4 separate regions of the Homo sapiens genome follow, and regions 1, 3 and 4 are each linked to region 2. The links are contacts of gene promoters, found by promoter capture Hi-C in blood cells and fetal thymus (Javierre and others, 2016). All regions are on one chromosome and are shown on one strand. Each heading gives the region's core, a stretch centred on a gene start or on the middle of the fragment in contact. The rest is flanking DNA. Distances are from core to core; before and after follow the strand shown. Region 1 overlaps KCNN3 (potassium calcium-activated channel subfamily N member 3). Region 2 holds the start of IL6R (interleukin 6 receptor). Region 3 has its middle 16 kb from the start of KCNN3. Region 4 overlaps KCNN3 (potassium calcium-activated channel subfamily N member 3).

The links. Contacts are between HindIII fragments. The CHiCAGO score rates a contact against its expected background, and 5 or more counts as called.
Region 1: a contact is called between a fragment that was not itself captured here and the fragment with the promoter of IL6R in region 2, in 1 of 17 cell types (non-activated CD4 T cells). The highest score is 5.1, in non-activated CD4 T cells.
Region 3: a fragment that was not itself captured here is called in contact with the fragment with the promoter of IL6R in region 2 in 1 of 17 cell types (naive CD4 T cells); the score reaches 5.0 in naive CD4 T cells.
Region 4: a fragment that was not itself captured here is called in contact with the fragment with the promoter of IL6R in region 2 in 1 of 17 cell types (naive CD4 T cells); the score reaches 6.3 in naive CD4 T cells.

The regions. Positions count from the first base shown.
Region 1 is chr1:154,785,047-154,787,843 of GRCh38, reverse strand. All of the region lies in intron 2 of KCNN3 (potassium calcium-activated channel subfamily N member 3), which reads left to right. Among named protein-coding and RNA genes, the nearest start is that of KCNN3, 84 kb to the left of the region's middle. The HindIII fragment of the contact is 3,964 bases long and covers 1-2,797 here.
Region 2 is chr1:154,404,054-154,406,753 of GRCh38, reverse strand. IL6R (interleukin 6 receptor) reads right to left here and starts at 1,411. Exons shown (of 10, transcript NM_000565.4): 1 at 1,040-1,411. The coding sequence starts at 1,124. It overlaps IL6R-AS1 (IL6R antisense RNA 1), which reads left to right and starts at 190. Exons shown (of 2, transcript NR_147855.1): 1 at 190-315. RefSeq lists an enhancer at 281-887 and silencers at 1,127-1,276, 1,477-1,606. The HindIII fragment of the contact is 4,036 bases long and covers 1-2,700 here.
Region 3 is chr1:154,885,133-154,887,832 of GRCh38, reverse strand. No RefSeq gene overlaps it. Among named protein-coding and RNA genes, the nearest start is that of KCNN3, 16 kb to the right of the region's middle. The HindIII fragment of the contact is 9,275 bases long and covers 1-2,700 here.
Region 4 is chr1:154,767,626-154,770,325 of GRCh38, reverse strand. The region is part of intron 3 of KCNN3 (potassium calcium-activated channel subfamily N member 3); the gene reads left to right. Among named protein-coding and RNA genes, the nearest start is that of KCNN3, 100 kb to the left of the region's middle. The HindIII fragment of the contact is 1,234 bases long and covers 763-1,996 here.

The DNA of each region.
Region 1 (2,797 bases), core at 183-2,682, 380 kb before region 2:
GGGCCCTGGAAGCAGGCCTGGGGCCTTTTTGGACAGGGGACTCTGGGCGTCTGGATATCCAAACGGGGGTTTAGAAGGTGGAGGCAGACAAGGCCTCTTGGCCCTGTGGGCTTCTGACTCCACGGGGTGTGGTGTGACTTAAGGAGGGGTCAAGCAGGGCCCTCTAGTGTGGGGGACCCAGAGCCAGAGCTCCAGGTGTCTGGATCCAGGGCAGTACCTGTGGGCATTGAACACACAGCAGCACAGACCCCGAATTGCAAATAGTGCCCCCAGTCACCAAACTGGCCCTCTCCATAGCCATATCTTTGTTTGCTTCTGCGCATCTCTAGCAGACACGCAGTTCTAAGCTCCTGGTTCATCAGGAACTTGCATCCTGATCTCCGCTGTACCCCACGGGTCTTGGCATTGTACCTGGCACGCTGAGGCCAGATCCGCAGTGACCTCTCACCAGCAGCAGTCGCTGTGGTGATGGTGGCTGCCGCATGCCCTGGCCCTGGCCCTGGCCCTGGCCCTGGTCCCTCCCTCCCAAATGGAGGGAATGGTGGAGCAGGTTTCCTTTCTCAACCGTGGGGAGGGCCACCACTTCCCACAGGGAGCCTAGGCCTCTGCCCTCAGTGGGGGAGCGGAGTGGGCCACTGACTAACGCGGCTTTCAGTGCCTACGATAGGAATTCACATGGAGAGGTGGCCTTGAAATAAGTGCCTTGTTTAATCTTCATGCCCTGGAAGTATTTTTCACAAGGTGGCTTAGTTAGAGGGGCTGTGGATCTGGTAATGAGGCTGGCCTTGGAGGGGGAGACTTGTGAGAGGAGCTCAGCTATGAACACTTCTAGCAGGGCTGTATTCATAAAATCCTGGGGGCTCCCAGGGGATTTGAAGCTCTACACAGAAAATTACAGGGCAGGAAAGGACCTGGGCAATTATTTTTCCTCCAAGAATGGCCATGCTTAAAACATCACCATTAGGCGCCACAAGTGGCTTTCTCCATGACAGCTCTTTTAAAAAATACTTTATTGGGTTTTTTTAAATTACAAAAGCAATATAGGCTTCTTTTAACACAGAGGTGTGTTCTCATTATCAAAAGGAAAAAAATCAATAGGTTCCCTGATTCCCATCTCCCTGCGTCCCCAGTAGTACCAGTGTTAACAATTTAGTGTTTAGCCAGAGGTGATTAATGCACCTTTTGTGTGTGCTTATACAAAAATGTACCAACATGCATACACATATATGGGCATTTTTGTTTTTATGTGTTGGTGTTTGCTTTTTTAAAAAAGAGGAATCACACTATACCCATTATGCTGTAAGTTTCTCTTTTTACTTAGCAATATATCATGAACATTTTCTAAGTCAATACATATAGATCCACTTCATTTTTAAAAACAGCTACATAATGTTCCCCAGTATGAGTACCATAATATATTCAGCTGTTTCCCTATTGATGTGTATTCAGGTTGTTTCCAGGGTTTTTTAAAAAATTATAATAAGCAGTTCTTTTAAAATATTCTTTGATTTCTTTTTCTATCTTGTGCATATGTTACAAAAGACTCTTTTGCCTTAGGAGGATTATAAAAATGGTGAACAATTAAAATATTTCTTTACAGTCACATTGATATAGTTTTGACACCTTAAACCCTTTATGTATTCATTTGGGTGGCCCTGGGCGCTGTGCCTGGCACTGTGGAGGACAGTGACCAAGGAGATGTCTGTCCTCAAGGACCCCTGCTTTAGTGAGGGTGCTGACAAGCAGGTGGACAGGAATGCGGCTCAGATGGACGATCAAGAAGGAGGTTTCGGCCAGAATGGAAACTTAATAGATGAGAGTGTGGCCTCTTGGTTTAAATCCTGTCTCCACCACTTAGTTGCTATGAGGTCTGGGGGATGTTCACTTTTCTTATGGGGCTATTGTGAGACTCAAAGAGTTGATGTAAAGAAAAGTGCTTAGGAGGCCAGGTGTGGTGGCTCATGCCTGTAATCCCAGCACTTTGGAAGGCCGAGGATGGCTGATCATATGAGGCTAGGAGTTTGAGACCAGCCTGGCCAACATCGCAAAACCCCACCTCTACTAAAAATACAAAAATTAGCCGGGTGTGGTGGTGCACAGCTACTCGTGGTAGCTGGGTACTAATCCCAGCTACTCGGGAGGCTGAGGCAGGATAATTGCTTGAACCCAGGAGGCAGAGGTTGTAGTGAGCCATAATCGTGCCACTGTACTCTAGCCTGGAAGACAGAGTGAGACTCTTGTCTCAAAAAAAAAAAAAAAAAAAAAAAAAAAGAAAAAGAAAAGTGCTTAGGCCCCAGCCAACAAGTTGGACTCACCAAATGGCTTGTTGCTGTTTGAAGTGCTGCCCCCGCCACTGGGAGATCAGGAAAAGCTCCCCCTGAAGGGGTGACAGTGCAGCTGGCCCTTGGGAAGGAGGTGAAGGGCCTTTTAGTCAGTTGGGGAAAAAACAAACACTCCCTGCCCACCACCACCACCTGGTCCTGACCTCAGTTCTTCAGCTCCCTAGGCTGTTCAAAGATCCAAAAACCTATTTATTTTTAGTTGCTAAAAATATCCCCTAAGCCAGGGTTAAAGAATTTCTCCCTTAGTGGTAAACAGGTGACTTAGAACCAATCAGGGCCCAGCAGCCCCAGTGATGATGCTGTTCCTCCCCTACCCCCAAACATTCAGCAGGATCCTTTCATGTGTCAAAAGGAAAGAAACTTATCAGAAACTTCCTGTTGAGAAAACGATACCTCTTACCCCAGACTTAGCAGATGCACAGAAACCTTTGACTCCTGGATCTGCCAAGGCACAC
Region 2 (2,700 bases), core at 162-2,661:
CTCAGCCTCTAGTTGCAGAAAGTCACCTCCTCAAAGGGAGAGATCAGTGTTCACCTAGGACTGGAATTCAGTGTGATCTAGTGGTTGAAAGTCTTAGCCTTCAGCCTCCCCAGCCTGTCAGCTGTTCCAGAAGCCTGTCAGCTGCCCCTTAGTTTTCTGCTGTGTCCTCAAAGAAGCACTGGGACCCTAAAATAAACCTCTGGAGAGCCAGTTGCCCAACTCTTCCAGAAGAGAGACTAGACACGCAGCTGGGCATGCGGCCAGAGCCCAAGAAAAGCCTGGTTTGCCAGGGGCAGATTACAGTCAACGGGAGCAGTAAGTGCCTCTGCCCTCTCCCTCACGGGTCCTTCTCTTTTCTAGAGGGGAGTCCAGCACGTGCCAGCCCCAGGAGGTCTCACTCCCTTGCCAGCCTCCCGACTCAATTCCCAGGACTGGGGCACTTGGCTTCCCAGAGTTGGTGGCTGCCAAAGTGACTCCGTGCAGCGGGAAGATCCGTGACTCAGCGCCCGTGATGTCAGTCCCTTCATAGTCAGGGCACTGTCATCCACACATGCACCCGCGGGGGTGGGGGGAGGACCAGGCGAGGTGGACCCCCAATGCAGAGGGAGAAGAGGGGCGCTGGTACAAAGGACTCCCCAGGCGGGTACATCACCCCGCTGGGGCGCGCCCTCTCGGGCAGTCTCCCCTTAGAGTAACCTGGGACGCGGTTGTGTAAAGGCTCCTGGGGGCACTGGGAAGGAAGCTCGAGAGTCAGGTTTGCAAGGACACAGTCCTGTACACAGACCGCAGGGTTCCCGCACAGCTTCACCGGGCATTCCGGGGAGCGCTCCGGACCAAGGGAGCAAGCGCAGCAGGGGGCGCAAGAGCCACTACCCGCGACCACACAGCTAGGTACCCGCGGGGCCTCAAGGCAGCCACAGAAAAGGGGATCCGTCGCACCTCCTTTCCTCCCTCCAGCCTCCCACAGACTGCGGTGACCAAGGCGGTTTCCCCCAGCCGCTAGCTGCCCCAGCCCTCCAGGTGCGCCCGAAGCCCTTACCCTGCGCAGGGCAGCGCCTTGGGGCCAGCGCCGCTCCCGGCGCGGCCAGCAGGGCAGCCAGCAGCGCGCAGCCGACGGCCAGCATGCTTCCTCCTCGGCTACCACTCCATGGTCCCGCAGAGGCGGACAGGCTAATGGGAACCGGGCGGCAGGGGTGGCAGGGGCGGGGCGGGGCGGTGGGCGGGCAGGCGGGCTCAGGCCCCGGGGGCAGCCCCCATCCGCAGGAGCCCGGCTCTCTACACACACTGCGAGTCCCTCGGCCCCGCGCCGCGCTCGGCTCCTCTCCCTCTGGCCCGGCTCAGTGTCAGTGCGACTTCCCACTCGCACATGACTCAGAGCGGCGGACGGTCCTGGCAACGCAGGAAAACATTTGAGGAACTCGCGCTGGAGCGTCTCTGGGCCGTCCCAGGGTGCGGTTACGAAAGCCGGAGCGGATGGCGCAACAGCCCCGCGCACCGGCCGACCGAGGGGGTGGCTTCCTGCCACAGCGCCGCACCTGAGCGGGGAGAACAGGGGACCGCCAGCCCCACCAGAGCCCTTCCTCCCGGTTCTGTTGATGAGAAAAGGGCGTATCAGCCACCAGTGGGCAGTGGCCTAGTTTTGATTTTTGGTTTCGTGAACGGGATTACGCTGTGAAAGGCACACCTGGAGAGCCCTCGAGGAGGCGATGTTCCTCTTACCCTTAGGGTAAAACAGTGCTTGGTAGCCCGGTTGCCCACTGGAATCAGCCAGGAGCCCTAAAACCCACCAATGTCTGGGTCGGGTCTCCAGAGATTCTGATTTCATCGGTCTGGGGTGAGGCTTGGGCATCGGAAGACTCACCACCGTAAAGGCACAGTCTTTCTGCCCAGCTGCTCCTCGCAGGCTGCAGCAGAGGCAAGGAAACGGTTTGGACTTTGCAGTCAGATAGACCTGGGTCCCCATTTAGACCTACCATCTACTGTGTCTGTGACTTCGGTTCAGAATCTGAGTCTCCATTTCCTCATCTGTCAGAGATAAGAAAGCCTATGCTGCCCAGGGTTATTAGGAAGGTTCTGTGGATGGCACCTAAACACCTGACACACGGTCTGGGCCACACGTGCTCAGTAGACATCAGAACGTTCATGGCTGCCCTCCTGACTTGACAGACAGACACTAACACCAGGGGCAGTGGCTCACGCCTGTAACCCCAACACTTTGGGAGAGCCGGGTGGGTGGATTGCTTCAGTCCAGGAATTCTAGACCAGCCTGTGTAACAAAGTGAGACCCCCATTTCTATAAAAAAATTTAAAAATTAGCTGGGTGTGGTGGTACACACCTATAGTCCCAGCTACTAGGGAAGCTGAGGTGGGAAAATTGCTTGAGTCCGGGAGATCCAGGGTACAGTGAGCCGTGATTGGGGGCTGCTACTCCAGCCTGGATGACAGTGAGACCCTGTCTGGAAAGAAAAAAAAAAAAAGAAAAGAAAGAAAGAAAAGGAAGGGAGGAGGGAGGGAGGGAGGGAAGGAGGGATAGAGGGGAAGGAAGGAAAGGAAGGAGAGAAAAAAAGAAAGAAACAAGCACCTGGCTTTTGAGCAACCACAAGGACCTTGAAGGGGACCATCTGTCCGTCCCTTGGAGGGGAACTCTCTCAAGGACCCCCACAGAGCCTAAAGCTGATAGGATGGCCTCATAGCTGAATC
Region 3 (2,700 bases), core at 106-2,605, 480 kb before region 2:
GTCTAACTCTGTCGCCCAGGCTGGAGTGCAGTGGTATAATCTCGGCTTACTGCAATCTCCACCTCCTGGGTTCAAGCCATTCTCCTGCCTCAACCACCCCAGTAGCTGGGATTAAAGGTGCATGTCACCACGCCTGGCTAATTTTTGTATTTTCAGTAGAGACGAGGTTTTACCATGTTGATCAGGCTGGTCTCTACCTCCTGACCTCAAATGATCCGCCCACCTTGGCCTCCCAAAGTGCTGGGATTGGAGGCGTGAACCACTGCGCCTGGCCAGATTTGCATTTTCAAAAGACTTTTCTGTTGCCCTGTGGAAGATGGATTTGAGGGCTGGAGGGGTGGGAGTGGGACCAGTTAGGAAGGTGTTGGGTTAAGTCTGAACAGGGAGGTGGAGAGAGAAGGAAAGCGATGCTGAGAGCTACCTTCAAGGCTGGGTCCACAGGATTGGGTGCCAAGGACGGCTCCCATCTTCTGGGGGATGCTGGGGATCTGCCTGAGCTGGGGAGACGCTGGACCAGGAGATGATTTTGGAGGCACAGCCGAATCTATTTGGCACATAAGGGTGAACTCCTCAAGGATGGACACACATATTATTCATCTCTAATTCTCTGGTTGGGCACAGCAGAAGCCCAAGAAGTGTTTGTGGAATAAATGACTGGAAAGCCACTCTTGGGCTTGCTGGTCTGTCTTGTTGGCCAGCATGTAGTGCTGCTCCTCAGATGACAAAGTGAAGTGTCTATTATGTTGTTTCTAACTTGGTGGGTTATCTGCCCAAATAGACGCTCTGAAGGTGACCCCAGATGATAGCAGAGAGAGGCACATGTGGGCAGCAAGTGGGTATGTGTGGGCATGTGGGAGGGGGGCACTGGGAGTTGGGGGAGCATTGTCCTTAGCATCTCATCACCGTTCATTCACATTTACTGCTCAGCTGGGAGCATGCTCTGGCTGCAGGGCGGTGCTTTTAGCCCAGAGGCTCAGAGCACTTTCCTATCACTAACATGGAACATTCCCAGAATTCCCCAGAGGCCTGGGGTTCCAGACAGTACAACATACAGAAGGCTGAGGCTCCAGTCACACTGCTGAGGTGTCTGAGCATAACAGTGCATTCGTCTGTCCAAGCATGCACCATTTGTTCATTCACTCGTCATGTGCCAGGCACTGTGCTGGGCTTGGGGAATCCAAGGGCAACAAGACAGGCCTGTCCCAGCCTCCTTGAGCTCACATGCTTTATGCACATCCAGATACAGGGGTGCCACTGTCACTAGAGCCACCTCTGGAGTCAGCTAGCAAGATCTGGAGCACATTATCCTCACTTCCATCTCAGCTGGTTGAGCTGCAGTACTTGAGAGTCTGTGGATGATGATGTTATTGGGAGTTTTATCTCTAACCACATGTACCTACTTCCTGGAAGTTCAGAGCAATGATCCTTAAAATGGCCAGAAACTAAAACTGAAAACCACCCAACTGCCTAAGAAGAGTGAATGGCTAAGCAAATTCTAGACATATGATGGGGGAGGAGCATGACATTATCTAATAAAAACGTGGGGTTATGTTGATATGTTAATGAGATGGGATTTACTGTCACTATGAGACTGTCTTTAATGAAACAAGAACATAAAATATCAGGTACACACTAATTACAGCACAACTGCTCTAAAACCTATATACACACATTGTCATCTCAATTGTATAAGGAAAACACAATGCATAGCAAAAGACTGAAATATGCCACATCTTAACAATACCTACTTTGGTAGAGGAATTTTACGTGACCTTTCTGCTTCTTTATTGTTTTCTATTTTTTCCCAAACTTTTAATAATCAGCAAGCATTTACCGTGAAAATTCAGAAAAGTAAATACATTAAGACTCTCCTATGTTTACACATTGGCATAGGTCAGAAAAGTATTTCCAGGGATGTTAGCTGGGCGTGGTGGTGCATGCCTGTAATCCCAGCTACTTGGGAGGCTGAGGTGGGAGAATCGCTTGAACCCAGGAGGCAGAGGTTGCAGTGAGCCGAGATCGTGCCATTGTGCTCCAGCCTGGGCGACAGAGCAAGAGTCCGTCTCAAAAAAAAAAAAAAAAAAAAAGAAGCATTTCCAGGGATGTCAGAAGAGCTTGGTGAGCGCTAGATTCAGTTGTTTGTATTTGTAATGAACCACACACTGATCATTGAGAGCTGAACTAGGTAGACACTAAGTGCGCCTTTGTTCTGAAGTGCTGGGATTCAACTTAATTCCATACAAGTTGAACAGCTTACAATCCTGTCAGGGAGGCAGACTTATTTATTTACTCAACCGTTTATTCAACGAGTGTTTATGGAGTTCCTCCTTTGTTCCTGGCATTGTCCCAGATGCTGGAGAACATAAACACATAATCACAATGTGATGTGAGAAGGGCCTCAGCAGAGGTCCCGACAGAGTATTAGGGGAATACAGCATGGCTAACCCTGTTTGAGGATGTTGGGGATCAGCGAAGGCCTCCTAAAGCAGGATCATTTGAACAAGGCCTTGAGGGGTGAATAAGAGTTCTCTAGGCAACAAATAGAGGGAAATGGAGCCTAAGCTACTTTGGGAATTATTTTTAGAGATGCCTACATGTGCTATGAGGGAAGATAGAATATGTGGATTGTTTATAGACTGTTGTCCTCATTCCAGCCAGGAGACCAGAATGAGGAGTTGAGTTCAAAGGTCTGAACTCACA
Region 4 (2,700 bases), core at 130-2,629, 360 kb before region 2:
CGGTCAAACTGAGAGGGCATTCTGCTGCCGCAGAACAAGGGTTCAGGCTCCAGGATGCAGGTTCAGGTTCTGAGAGCCAGTGCAGTGTTGGAAGACCTTTCTCACACACAGAGCCCCAGGGACACACCATGCTCACCTATTCAGAACCTCGCCATTACTCAGCAGCTGACATTGCAACATCTGCTCTGAGTGGGACCACACTGCACAGGGCTTCATGAGCCTTCTCTGGTAAGCAGACACTCTTCCCCCAATGGAGAAAGCATGTGCTTGGGTTCCGACCCCAAACTCTTCATGGTACTGTTAGCTGAGCAACATTGTGCTGGTCGCTTCACCTCTCTGGACCTCAATTTTCTTATCTGAAAGCTGGACACAGGATTTATTGTTAGAGTCAAACAAGGTGTATATATGCACTATGTACTGCAATCCAATGATGGTGAAAGTTAATAATAATAGTGCAGATCCCTTGATAACTCTTGGGAATTTTGTGCTGCCTTCTTTTAATTAGAACAGCCCAACTTGTACCATACATGGGCCTATACTCTTCCTGTTTTCCTTTCTAAATGATGGAAGCCATGTTGTCTATTAACATAGTAATTGAATTTGCGTAGCCCTTTAAGCTATTTGAAGTCTTTCACTTCCTCAGATGCTCTCTGGCATGTATTTCAGATGGCTGAACATGCAACAAAGTACCTGCAAGTGAGTTTCGTAGTTTATTGAACCTATCACAAGAAGGGGTGACTATTTTTCACTGGAAAATAAGCTTGTTTTAAAGAATGTAGTTTGCAAAGTACTTAGATGATGCACCTTATTTGATATTGCATGGCCTTCCATAGCTTCCAAGCTGAGGCTGGGTTAGTTTGGTCCCTGGTGGGCCACTGGGTCTCTCTCTCTCTCTCTGCAGACATGGGTCACAAGCCCCCGCTAAGACCAAGGCACAGAGGAACAATGAGCAAATCGGAAATTCTCTGAAAGTTCCCTTCTCTTGCGAAAAGGCCATTTGACCAAAGACTTAGGTATAACATGAGGTGTATTAAAGCATGGTGGATGTTATTGTTGCACCCCTGTGCTAGTTCTGTGTAAAATCCATATGTCATCCCAGCTTGCCCTCACAATAGATCTATGAGAGAGGTACCTTGCCTGAGGGAAGGAGAGCCCGGGTCCTGGAGGGGCATTTGGGTGAAGCAACATGTCATCCACTACATGGATGTGTTTGAATTGGACATGAAGGCTCATGGGAGAGTTGAGGAAACTGATAGAAAGTAACTGGCCCGAGGTCACAGAGCTATTAATAATAAGCGTGGAGCCAAAATCTGAACTGGTTTCTGACTCTGAACTTCCATGTGTGTGTCACCAACCCAGGCTGAATCCTGCACATACGAGGAAATCTTGGCCTCTACTCTACTGGCAACTTTCCCAATCTCAGAGTCTTAAGGCCACTGAGACTAACATGTGAATCCCAGTCTTGCTGTTTTCTCTGCCTCTGCTGCCTATGGTCTTGACCATGTTATCATACTAGCCTCCTGGGCTGCCTTCATGTCCAATTCAAACACATCCATGTAGTGGATGACATGTTGCTTCATGTCAACATGAAGGGGACAGATGCCCCCTCCAGGACCCGGGCTCTCCTTCCCTTAGCTGGGGTTGTGACTGAGTCCCTCTCTTCAGGTCAAACCCCTTGCCTGGGGGCAGCAAGCTCCCGAGGGGATTTGTCAGTGTGGGAGTTCAAAGGCCTAACCCCGTTTGCTTCTAGTAGGACACTCAGCCAGGCTCCAGGGTCCCTGAGGGATCGCCTAAGGCCTCTGTTACCACTGCATCCGGGAACTTCCTCTATACCCCAGAGGTATTGATCCTGAGAGCAGCCCCAGTAAAACTCCCACCCCCAAATCTCAGCATCTCACAGACTGTTTCCCAGGAATCTGCCCCGTTAATATATTGTTTCCTAAACAGGCAAAGCACTTCTCTTACCAAGACTAAGCACTATTTTTAGAATCAAGCTTAAATGATCATTCTGTTTCCCAATGTCAAATAATAAGTAAGATTGGCAGAGGCCTTCAGCCAGGACTTATTCAGCCAGAGACTGGACAGAAGCTGGAAGCAGGGGAAGCTTTGGGGAACTGAAGCGTCAGACCAGGGTAGTGTGGACAGGATGCCTTGATCTCTCTCAGCCTGATCTAATGATGATTCTATCACCTTAGGCATCAGAGAGGGTAAGTGACTTGCCCAGGGTCACACAGCAGCATGACAGGTTCTAGAAAAATCCACAGCTGCTGATGCCCAGAGCCTGTTCACATTCCAGGTAGCTTTCATCAGCCTGGACTTATCTCTAGTTGTATACACACACTTCTGAAGTTGCTATGGAAATCTCTCTACAGCAAGATGTATTTTAAAAGACAGTTCTCATATCTTGGGTTGGTTTTTATGTGACAACAAAGGTTTTTCATATTTCCTCCTCCCAAGGAGAGAAAGTGGGATCATAATTACGCAGAACAGCCGTGCCATGGGGAGGGCAGCGCCTGGTTGCTGGGAGGGCAGTGACAACAGTGGGCTTGTTTTCCTTGGCCCCCAGAGAGGCATTACATCATGGGTTCCGAGGCCTGACAGTTGTGGCACTCTGCATTCTCTGGGATTCTCCTGGCTGCCTGCCCACCTCCCTCAGGGAGGAACCTCCTGATTTTACACTGTCAAGTGCCAAGCAGCTTT